Linked DNA regions of Homo sapiens: all the other regions are linked to region 3. Evidence: promoter capture Hi-C in 16 types of primary human blood cells and fetal thymus (Javierre and others, 2016). All regions are on one chromosome and are shown on one strand. The core of a region is centred on a gene start or on the middle of the fragment in contact, and the rest is flanking DNA. Distances in the headings are between cores, read along the strand shown.

Region 1 (3,344 bases), core at 189-2,688, 270 kb before region 3:
AATCTGACTGTTGAAGTGCTCTACTAGGAATGAATACTTTTTTATACTAGACATTCAAGTATTTCTACACCAAAGCTTAAAGGATGACTTAAAATCCAAACAGCTTTGCCTCTAAGAATTTCCAGGCTGGTCCAGACCCAGGGGCTATTGGGCCTGTTATGCTACCATCCATCACAGCATTCAGAGGCCCATGCACACTTTCATATCCATTCCAAGGAATCCTCGTTTCCCTTAATAACCCATGATAGATCCAAAATCCATCTGTTTATCTTCGTAAACACTGAAGCTACTATAATTTCATCAATTTTAAGAAGCACATTTTATGTTTTAACATCTCTGAAATCAGGACACATTTGAAGTTTATCATAAGAAAGGATGGCATAGCTTAACTGTGTCACAGATTAATTGGTAGCATTTTTTTCTTCGTGGCAATTTTTGTGTTTTGCACCTGAATTGCTTCTTGAAGTCATGATACCTGTGACTGCCCACATTTTATATCCAGTTCCCAGCACTACTTACACTCCGGGAAGCAAGAATTTGCTTCAGCAGCCGATGGAAATACTGCTGCTGGGAGTTGAGGTAGCGCTTGTACTGTGACTTGAAGCATAACTGCCGGTACTTGACCACCTCGGGGTTAAAGTGTCCGTCTTAAAAAAATAAAGGTATATATATTTACATCAATCAACAAATATACATCATCAGTCAACAAATATATTGAATGAGTGCTTAACATGGTAAACTCTGTACCACAAAACTTAAGGGAAAAGTGAACATTTAAGAGAATCAAGAAGGAGAACCAAAAGTAAAAGCGTGCTGAGAAGCAATGACAGCTCATTTAAGGCTGATGATCATCACAGCCACAGTAATGCAACTGTCTTCAGCAGCACTAGAACTGACACATGGCATGGGTCAGAGTGGAATATGCAGGAAGTCCTGCCTTGACATTCCTCATCTGTATCCTTACCAGACGACCATACTGTTTCGGGGGAAACATGCCAGCAAAAGAGACAGTGCTACCTTTATGGAAGGTCCCTTACAGAGCCCCTCTAAAGCCAAGTGGGTCCCCAACTTCTGCTCTATCAGAGGAGACAGTGCACCCTCAGCTGTAGTGAAACAGATCTCTGCCAACCATAGAGGGGAATTCCTTTTTACACTAGTAACCCACCAAAGAAGGGAATGTTCATTTTACACCCTTAATATAATGCGATTTCAGGTGAAAAGGCTACTCTCTCTGGTCATTAGCAGCTGTCAAGTTGTCAAGTTTAACAGAATTCCAGATGTGCTGCCCATTCAGGGCCTTGTGCCAGAACAAAGTCACCCTGGAAGGGAAGAGGAAGAGGCTTCCTTGGCTCCTCTCCATGGTCCAGAAAGCAAACTGTAACTTAAAGAGTGGCCCAAAGCATTTTGCAACCCCCAATATAGTAACTGATGCAGTTGAGAATCACCCATGGAAGCAGAAACTACTGGGTAAGACAAAGGCTTTTGGAAAATGAGACTATCACATGATCCATGATCCCAAAGTATCATCCCACACTGCTTCTTAATGATAAAGGAATAAAGTATCCTTACAAGCAAGAGGTACCGCAGACACCCCTTAACCAAGTGAGCAAATGTGGCTTTACCAAAATGGAAAACCTGATACCATGTGCCTCCTGAGGTGACACAATGGGAAAGACCACATTTCCTATATCATATTCCTGCCGAAAGCCTTTAACCCAATCTAACCATGAGAAAACAAAATGACAAATTCCCAAGAAGCAGGACATTTTATAATTCAAGTGTCCTGGCTCTTCGTGTACTGAAAGACAAAAACAAAAGGGGCAAAGCGCCCTACCTAGATTCAAAAAGCTAAAGAGACGTAAGGCCCAAGCACAATGCATGAACCCTGAACAGATCCTGGATTTACACAGCTACTCTAAAGGACATTGCAGGAACAATCAAGAGAATTTGAACATGAAGGCCGGGTGCGGTGGCTCACGCCTGTGATCCCAGCACTTTGGGAGGCCGAGGCGGGCAGATCACGAGGTCAGGAGATCGAGACCATCCTGGTTAACACAGTGAAACCCTGTCTCTACTAAAAACACAAAAAATTAGCCAGGCGTGGTGGCGGGCGCCTGTAGTCCCAGCTACTAGGGAGGCTGAGGCAGGAGAATGGCGTGAACGCGGGAGGCAGAGTTTGCAGTGAGCTGAGATTGCGCCACTGCACTCCAGCCTGGGCGACACAGCGAGACTCTGTCCCAAAGAAAAGAAAAGAAAATTTGAACATGAAATAGCCTATGATATTATCTGCTCAATGTAAAATTCCTTGAGTGTGGTAACAGGGCGGTGATGATATGGGAAAGTGTCTGTTAAGAGACATGGACATGCTGAAGTGCTTGGCAGTGAAGTGTCATATTTTCTGCAGCAAAAAGTGTGTGTGTACCTAAACACACACACACACGAACCTTGATACGTGCAATAAAGCAAATGGCAAGCTCTTTTTAAAATTTTTTAAAGACCAGACATGAAGGGCACCTCTAGTATGCTGGAAATGTTTTATTTTTTTATGTAGATGCTGGTTACAAGCTGATGCTGGTTACAAGCTGAATTCATATTATGTATTTTCTATATAAGTCAATACATTTTTGTTTTTTAGAACACAGCCTAGACAGCAAAGTGTTACACAAAACCGCTCTTTGCTGCCTCAGTATCTGTACATGAAGATAAAAAGAAGAAAAGGAAGAAAGGAATACCCACATAAAGTGAACGTGTGCCCATCCACCACCCCCCTCAAAGAAAGAATACTGAGCTACAAACCTCGGAAAAGCTTCTGGGCAATGTGCAGAGGGTTTCCAAAGCGGAAGTTCTCCCCACTGAACAAGGCTAAGATGAGTTCATTCTGCTGCTCAGCACTGTCTTCAGGAAACTGGGGCAGAAACTGCTGGAGGTGTTCACGTTGAGAATCACTTAACACTTCCTGCCATGTTGAGAGGCTGACAACATCAAAGAAGATCTCAGGCTAGGAGAAATAGGAAAAGTAAACAAAAGTAAAATAAATTTTTGAGTTTTTTGTATGTATGCGTATACAAAACATTACATAATATACATAAGATTTACCAATTTAACCATTTTTAAGTGTAGACTTCAGTGGCCTTAAGTGCATTCACATTTGCTGTGCAACTATCACTACTAATTTTTTACATTTTTTTTTTTTTCTTTTTGAGACCAAATTTTGCTCGTTGCCCAGGCTGGAGTGCAATGGCACGATCTCTGCTCCCAGACTCAAGCGATTCTCCTACCTCAGCCTCCCGAGTAGCTGGGATTACAGGTGCGCACCACCACGCCTGCCTATTTTTTGTATTTTT
Region 2 (3,011 bases), core at 176-2,675, 290 kb before region 3:
TTTTTTATTATTTCTCTACTTTACAATGTATGCTTGGAGAACAGCAGGGATTTTCATCTGTTTTAATCACTGCACCTAAAACAATACTGGATGCTCAATAAATACTGTTGATGAGCACAATAAAGCAGAGGTGTCAAAGAAGGGCCCCAGAAAGACCAGCCACTTTGCCACTCGGTGACAAGGACTGGTAAGCCCTGCCTGCCACCTCCACCCCCGAATTGGTTCCTTTACCATGACATAGTACTTACTTGGCTCCAAGGTTGCCTTTGATGATGGGGGCTGTGACCACGCTCTTGCCCTTCATTGGCTGGCTGATCACAGAGAGGGGAACTGTGATCCGTGTAGGCAACTTCCCCTAGAAAAAAAAAGCAGTCAGGTTTTGTAAGACAGGAGGTAAGGAAAACCAGCAAGTGTCACCTCCAGGGCATCAGGAACTGAGAAGCAAGCACTACAGATGCTGTCAGTCCCCAGTACCCACCAGGGTCTCAAGGCTCCTGAGGTTTGGGCCCAGAAAACCCTAACGAACTACTTATATACCATAGTCAGGTGAAATCTGATCTTTTATCATCCTCTTTCATGCCACCAGAAGCAGCAGCAACCCATCTATCTGCTTTCAACAGGATAAAACCTGTATCTAAATCACAAAGGCAGGTGTGTCCTCACTTTAGCACAGTCCAAGATTCTGAGTTCCTTGGAGGACAGAGGCTTATCTCTGTATCCCTCAGTACATGGCACAGTGCTGGGCACACAATCACTATTTGGTGAAATAAATTTGAGGAAGGACAGAGGAGCTCAAGAGTTAATACCTAAAGCGCACAACTACTCATTGGAGTGCAGGGCCACTGGTGAGGAACAAACAGCAGGGCATGCTAGATTAGGGAGAGGCCATGCTCTCCGGTGCTTTCCATTTCTCCCGGAGATAAGAGAGGTTAGCTAGGGGACACTAACAATAAACTCAATCAAGTGAAAAGTCCAACCCCCAAGCTAATAAAGCCTAAGAAGAATTTTTTTTAGAAACTGAGAAGGCCTAGAGTCTTTGGGACTTCAGGATGGTTAAGATAGGTCACTGCATTACCTGTTTTCAGATGGCCTTGATTTTAATGCTTGACTGGTAATAAAATTTCTATGCAGTGAAATCTTATGTAAATTAAATCTGAGTTTTAAAAAATTCAAGAGGGCTGGCTGACAGGATGCTGGGAGAGGGCATCAGCATTCCACAGAGGCAGGCTAACACTAAGGAGATGGGCACTCAGCTGCACAACTGCGCGGCAGGTCCCCGCACCTATCTCCATGGGGTTCACCCACAGCCTGGAGCCTGTTAAAAAAGCATGCAAAGAGGGCAACAGGCAACAGAATACCTTGAGATGGTACCTCCAGATACATTTACTTATGGTTTTGTTCTTCCTCAAAATGCCTTTGTTGCTTAAAACATCTCAGACCAGTACACTGCCTAGAATGATCCCTTCAGGAACTACCAAAAAGCTGACTAGACAGGGGGAAGTAAGCACCATCAATACTTCCTGCCCCACCAAATGCTCTCCAGTTGCACCTACCCAGGTTGATTATAACAGGACAGATGACACTTGATATAACCTTTCTGTTAGAGGGATTCAAAAGAAACAAAAGTGGATCAAGTGAGTGCAGTTTCCCGCTTCCTTATTTCAACTTCTATGATGCAGAAACCTAAGTAACTCTTTTTTTTTTTTTTTTTTTTTGAGACAGAGTCTTGCTCTGCCATCCAGGCTGGAGTGCAATGGCACGATCTTGGCTCACTGCAACCCGGGTTCAAATGATTATCCTGCCTCAGCCCCCTGAGTAGCTGGGATTACTGGTGCCCACCACCACGCCCGGCTAATTTTTCTATTTCTGGTAGGGACGGGGTTTCACCATGTTGGCCAGGCTGGTCTCGAACTCCTGACCTCAGGTGATCTGCCCACCTCGGCCTCCCAAAGTGCTGGGATTACAGGTGTGAGACACTGCGCCTGACCAACTATTTCTTTTTTAACCACACTATGTTAAGATTTTCTGTTTTGGGTATTCATTTGACTTATGTTTATATCCTTCTTCACTGCTCTGGCTTTTATCCCAATTTATGAAGGCTTCCCTATATAGCTTGCTCAGTAAAGCGAAACTGTATTTTATACTGTCCATACACACCCCTCTTCTGAACAATGCTCCTTACCTAGAGGCTGAAGAGTAAACACACATGCATCCACAGACACCTGTGTGGGGATATGGGGATTTGGTTTATGATAAATGCAGCCTTTCAAGCTAGTGGGGGAAGCAATAGTTGATTATTTTGGCAAATTTGAAAACTAGGAAGTGAGATTTCTACTTCATCCTATTCACAAAAATATATTTCAAATGCATTAACAATTATACTTTTTTTTTTTAAAACTCAAGGTATTTTATGATCCTGGGGTAAGGAAGACACAGACACGAAACCTAGAAACCATTAAAGGAAATGCTGATAGATCTAATTAGATACAATTATAAAGATCTGTAGAGCAAAAGACTCCATATATAAGGTTAAAAGATGACAGACTGGAAAAAAATATTTTCTATGTATATAAAGAATTCACATCCACAGATTCCGTATCTTCTGGATGTTATAAAAAGCCACCTCAAACAATATGAAAATGCCAAATACCTCAAAAGGAAAGTGGCAAAGATTTACTCACCAGGGAGCACATGCCAATCTCCAAATGAATGGATACTCAACTTCACTCATATCAGGGAAATGAAATCAAAAAAGAACCCCCTTTTCACCAGTAAGACAGGTATGCGAGGTTAAAAAGACGTGGTATCAGCACTGCTTAAGGTCTAGGGGAAACAGGAGGCGTGCTGATGGGGCACATGTGGATGTGGCCTTTCAGGCGGCACCGCTGGAGTATCTCAACTCTCCATGTGCGCACCCCCAAGGCTCGCACTAGCACTCTCCGCTTCAGAAACGTTCACACATAAGCCCAGACACATTCGCCACTGCCTGGCTAACAGTGGAAACGCATCCT
Region 3 (2,996 bases), core at 231-2,730:
CCCAGAAGGCAGAGAGCTAAAAACATTCAATGAACAACACTAAAAAACCCCATCGGTGTCTTCGACCCAATATGCGGAAGGAGTATGAAGGAGAAGAGCTTCCAGGGGATGAAAAGCTTTATGAAAGCTGCCAAGATCAGAACGCCTGGCTGGAGAGAGGGGCTCCAAACAGGAATGCTTGGAGGCACGGTGTTAAGGGAGGACAGGGCAGAGTGTGAAGCTGGGCTAAGGAGGTTGGATTTGATCCGGGAGACACGGAAAGTCATAAAGGAGCTGTGGTTTCAGATTTACCTGACTGCTTTGTGTAGGAGAGATCAGAGGGTGGCAGCCCAGAGGCAGGAGATCTTTCTTAACCAGGCAAAGGGCTCTGAGGACTCGAATAGCGGTCTTCTAATGCGCAGGAATGGAAGGGCTATGCTTGTCAGCAGAGTCTTGATCAGATTTGGAACTAATTGGATATGAGATGTAAGCAGGGTGGAGAATCAAAGATGATTCCAGGATTTGAGCCTGGGAGAATGCTGCCATTAGAATTAGAGAAAACAGTGGAAAATGGGCAAGTCAGGGAAGGAAGATGGGGCTTGTTGATCTCAAAGCAGGGATTTTTATTTTGTTCACTCCTGTTTCCCTGTACCCAGGACAGTGCTTAGCGCCTAGTGTGTGCTTGGTAATGTTCATTGGCTACAGAATACAGTAGAACATAAATGGAGACGTCCCCAGGCGACCGCTAAGGCAGAACTGGCACTCCTTGGTGGTGTCTGTGCTGGGAGGGAGGTCTTCCTGTCTGAAGTCGTAAGATGAGACGTGCTGCCAAGAGAAAAAGCTTAGAGAAGAAAGGGATGAAACTGAAGGGAGAACTTTGGGAATCATGACATTTAGGACTAGAAAGGAGGACCGGAATCCAGGGAAAGGGGGCATTTGAGGAAGCATCAGATGCTGCAAGTGGGCGAGGGGCGTTGGGATGGCTCAGAGGGCATCTGGTGGCACAGCTCATGTCACTGGGCCTCCCCAGGGTAGCCGGGCGCAGGCCAGCAAGCGCCTCCCGCCTGGAGAACAGGAGGCTGCGTAGCCGACGGGGAGCCTGGGCCAGGGGCGGTTCTGGTTTCTGTTTGGTTTTGGGGGGTTCATAAATGCGATTTAGTCCTGTAGCAAAGTGAGCAAGGTGAAGGGGAGAGACCGGAGGCGCATGAGGGAGGAGGGAAAAGATGGTTGGCATCAAGGAGGTGGATAAAGGGCTGCCCTCCCGGGGCAGGGCCCCTGGAGGGCCGGAGGGGTGGTGAACGCCGTCGTGGTGATGGTGAGGGCCTTAGCGACCACCACCCGAGTGAGGCCCCCTCACCTTCAGGCCCAGAGCCGAGGGGAGGAGCCTCCCCCAGGGCCGGCGGGGGCGGGCAGGTGAGCCGGGCAGGTGCGCAGGCGAGCGCGGCGGGCTGGGCGGGCCGAGGCCACACCCTGAAACTACCTGCGTGGGCCGGGCCGGAGTGTGAGAGCGGAGCTGCAGCCGGAGAAAGAGGAAGAGGGAGAGAGAGCGCGCCAGGGCGAGGGCACCGCCGCCGGTCGGGCGCGCTGGGCCTGCCCGGAATCCCGCCGCCTGCGCCCCGCGCCCCGCGCCCTGCGGGCCATGGGAGCCGGCCGCCGGCAGGGACGACGCCTGTGAGACCCGCGAGCGGCCTCGGGGACCATGGGGAGCGATCGGGCCCGCAAGGGCGGAGGGGGCCCGAAGGACTTCGGCGCGGGACTCAAGTACAACTCCCGGCACGAGGTGAGCGCGGGCCGGGGACCCGGGGCGCTGGGAAGCTCCTGCCCGCCCGACCCTGCAGCGCGGCGCTGGGCTCGGCCGGCTCCCCTGGCGTGTCCGTCGGTGGCCGAGCTCTGGGCGCACAGGTGGAATTTCCTGTTCAGCGGGTGCCGGGCCGCGGGCGGGCGGGGCTGGCCGGACCTTTGGTACCGGACCGGCTGCGCCCCGCCAGGGGGAGGCGGGAAGCCCCTGGGCCTTCCTGCGCCCTCGGTCCTTTCTTTCCCTGAGTTGAAAAAAGGGGCTCCGTCTCGGCCCCTCCATGACTCTCGCGCTGTTAGTGAACATCTGGAAGAAACCAGGGGCTTGGAGTGGGGTTATTTGGGAGGAAGTGAAATTTCAGGAGGGTTTGGAGTCTCAGCCATCCTTGGCCTCTGCAGAAAGTTTCTTTCGTCTCTCTCCTTCCCCGTCAAAAGGCGCTTTGGGACCTCGCAGAGGACAACTGGGAGGCCAGGGCTTTGGCTGCCATACGGGCTGGAGCTAAGAACTCCAGAGTTGGGCTTGCCTGGGCTTCTCGAGAGGGGATGGAGCCCTTTGGGAAGGCGGCTGTATGGGAAGGGATGTGGGAACACACATGTCTTGAGCCTTTTGCGAAGTACCGAAACAGGAAGCTCTTCTTTGGCAGAAAGAACAATGAAAGACCTATTGAAAGATCTCAAAAAGATTACATGTTCCTGTATGGAGTTGGGGATGGGTCGCTAGTCACTTCATTGACGGACCCACCTAGGTGGTAGTGCCCGGGCGGGACCAGCAGCCAGGTCTCTACCCTCTCTGTCCAAGGCAGACCCCCAGGTTTCCTGGAAGGCCAGGGCATACCAGGTCAGGGCGGCGCTGAGAGGCAGGGGCTGTGTGGCAGAGAGTTTTGCTCCTCTGCAAATGATGGCCTCCCTGCCCTGCCAACCCTCACTTTCTCCCCTCCTTCCGGGTGCCCCTGGGCTCCATAGTCTCCGCCGTTGCTCCCTAAGTCAGGCCTGATTTTGGTGCTGTCTCAGATCAATTCCTTTTGTCCAAGCAGCATCCCGACCTAGGGAGCTTGCAGAAAATCAGACGCTGGGGCTTTGGAGGCTGCCTGCACCACAGACAGGACCTGGGGCTGGGCTCTGCTATTTTCTCCACTTTTCACCCTCAGCAAGGAGGAAAGCTTCCAGTGGACCTGAAGGCTTGGGCCCTTCCCCTGGCTGTGCCTGTGCCCTGCTGTGAGGCA

Evidence for each region. The method cuts DNA at HindIII sites, captures the fragments that hold promoters and counts their contacts. A CHiCAGO score of 5 or more calls a contact.
Region 1: a contact is called between a fragment that was not itself captured here and the fragment with the promoter of ST14 in region 3, in 3 of 17 cell types (naive B cells, neutrophils and erythroblasts). The highest score is 5.9, in naive B cells.
Region 2: a fragment that was not itself captured here is called in contact with the fragment with the promoter of ST14 in region 3 in 1 of 17 cell types (erythroblasts); the score reaches 7.1 in erythroblasts.

The regions. Positions count from the first base shown.
Region 1 is chr11:129,885,798-129,889,141 of GRCh38, forward strand. NFRKB (nuclear factor related to kappaB binding protein) reads right to left here. Exons shown (of 27, transcript NM_001143835.2): 4 at 2,797-2,998; 5 at 520-647. Among named protein-coding and RNA genes, the nearest start is that of NFRKB, 8.1 kb to the right of the region's middle. The HindIII fragment of the contact is 2,731 bases long and covers 74-2,804 here.
Region 2 is chr11:129,865,629-129,868,639 of GRCh38, forward strand. It overlaps NFRKB (nuclear factor related to kappaB binding protein), which reads right to left. Exons shown (of 27, transcript NM_001143835.2): 25 at 249-355. Among named protein-coding and RNA genes, the nearest start is that of NFRKB, 28 kb to the right of the region's middle. The HindIII fragment of the contact is 4,836 bases long and covers 1-3,011 here.
Region 3 is chr11:130,158,302-130,161,297 of GRCh38, forward strand. ST14 (ST14 transmembrane serine protease matriptase) reads left to right here and starts at 1,481. Exons shown (of 19, transcript NM_021978.4): 1 at 1,481-1,759. The coding sequence starts at 1,679. RefSeq lists silencers at 1,360-1,479, 1,560-1,629 and an enhancer at 2,717-2,996. The HindIII fragment of the contact is 2,113 bases long and covers 819-2,931 here.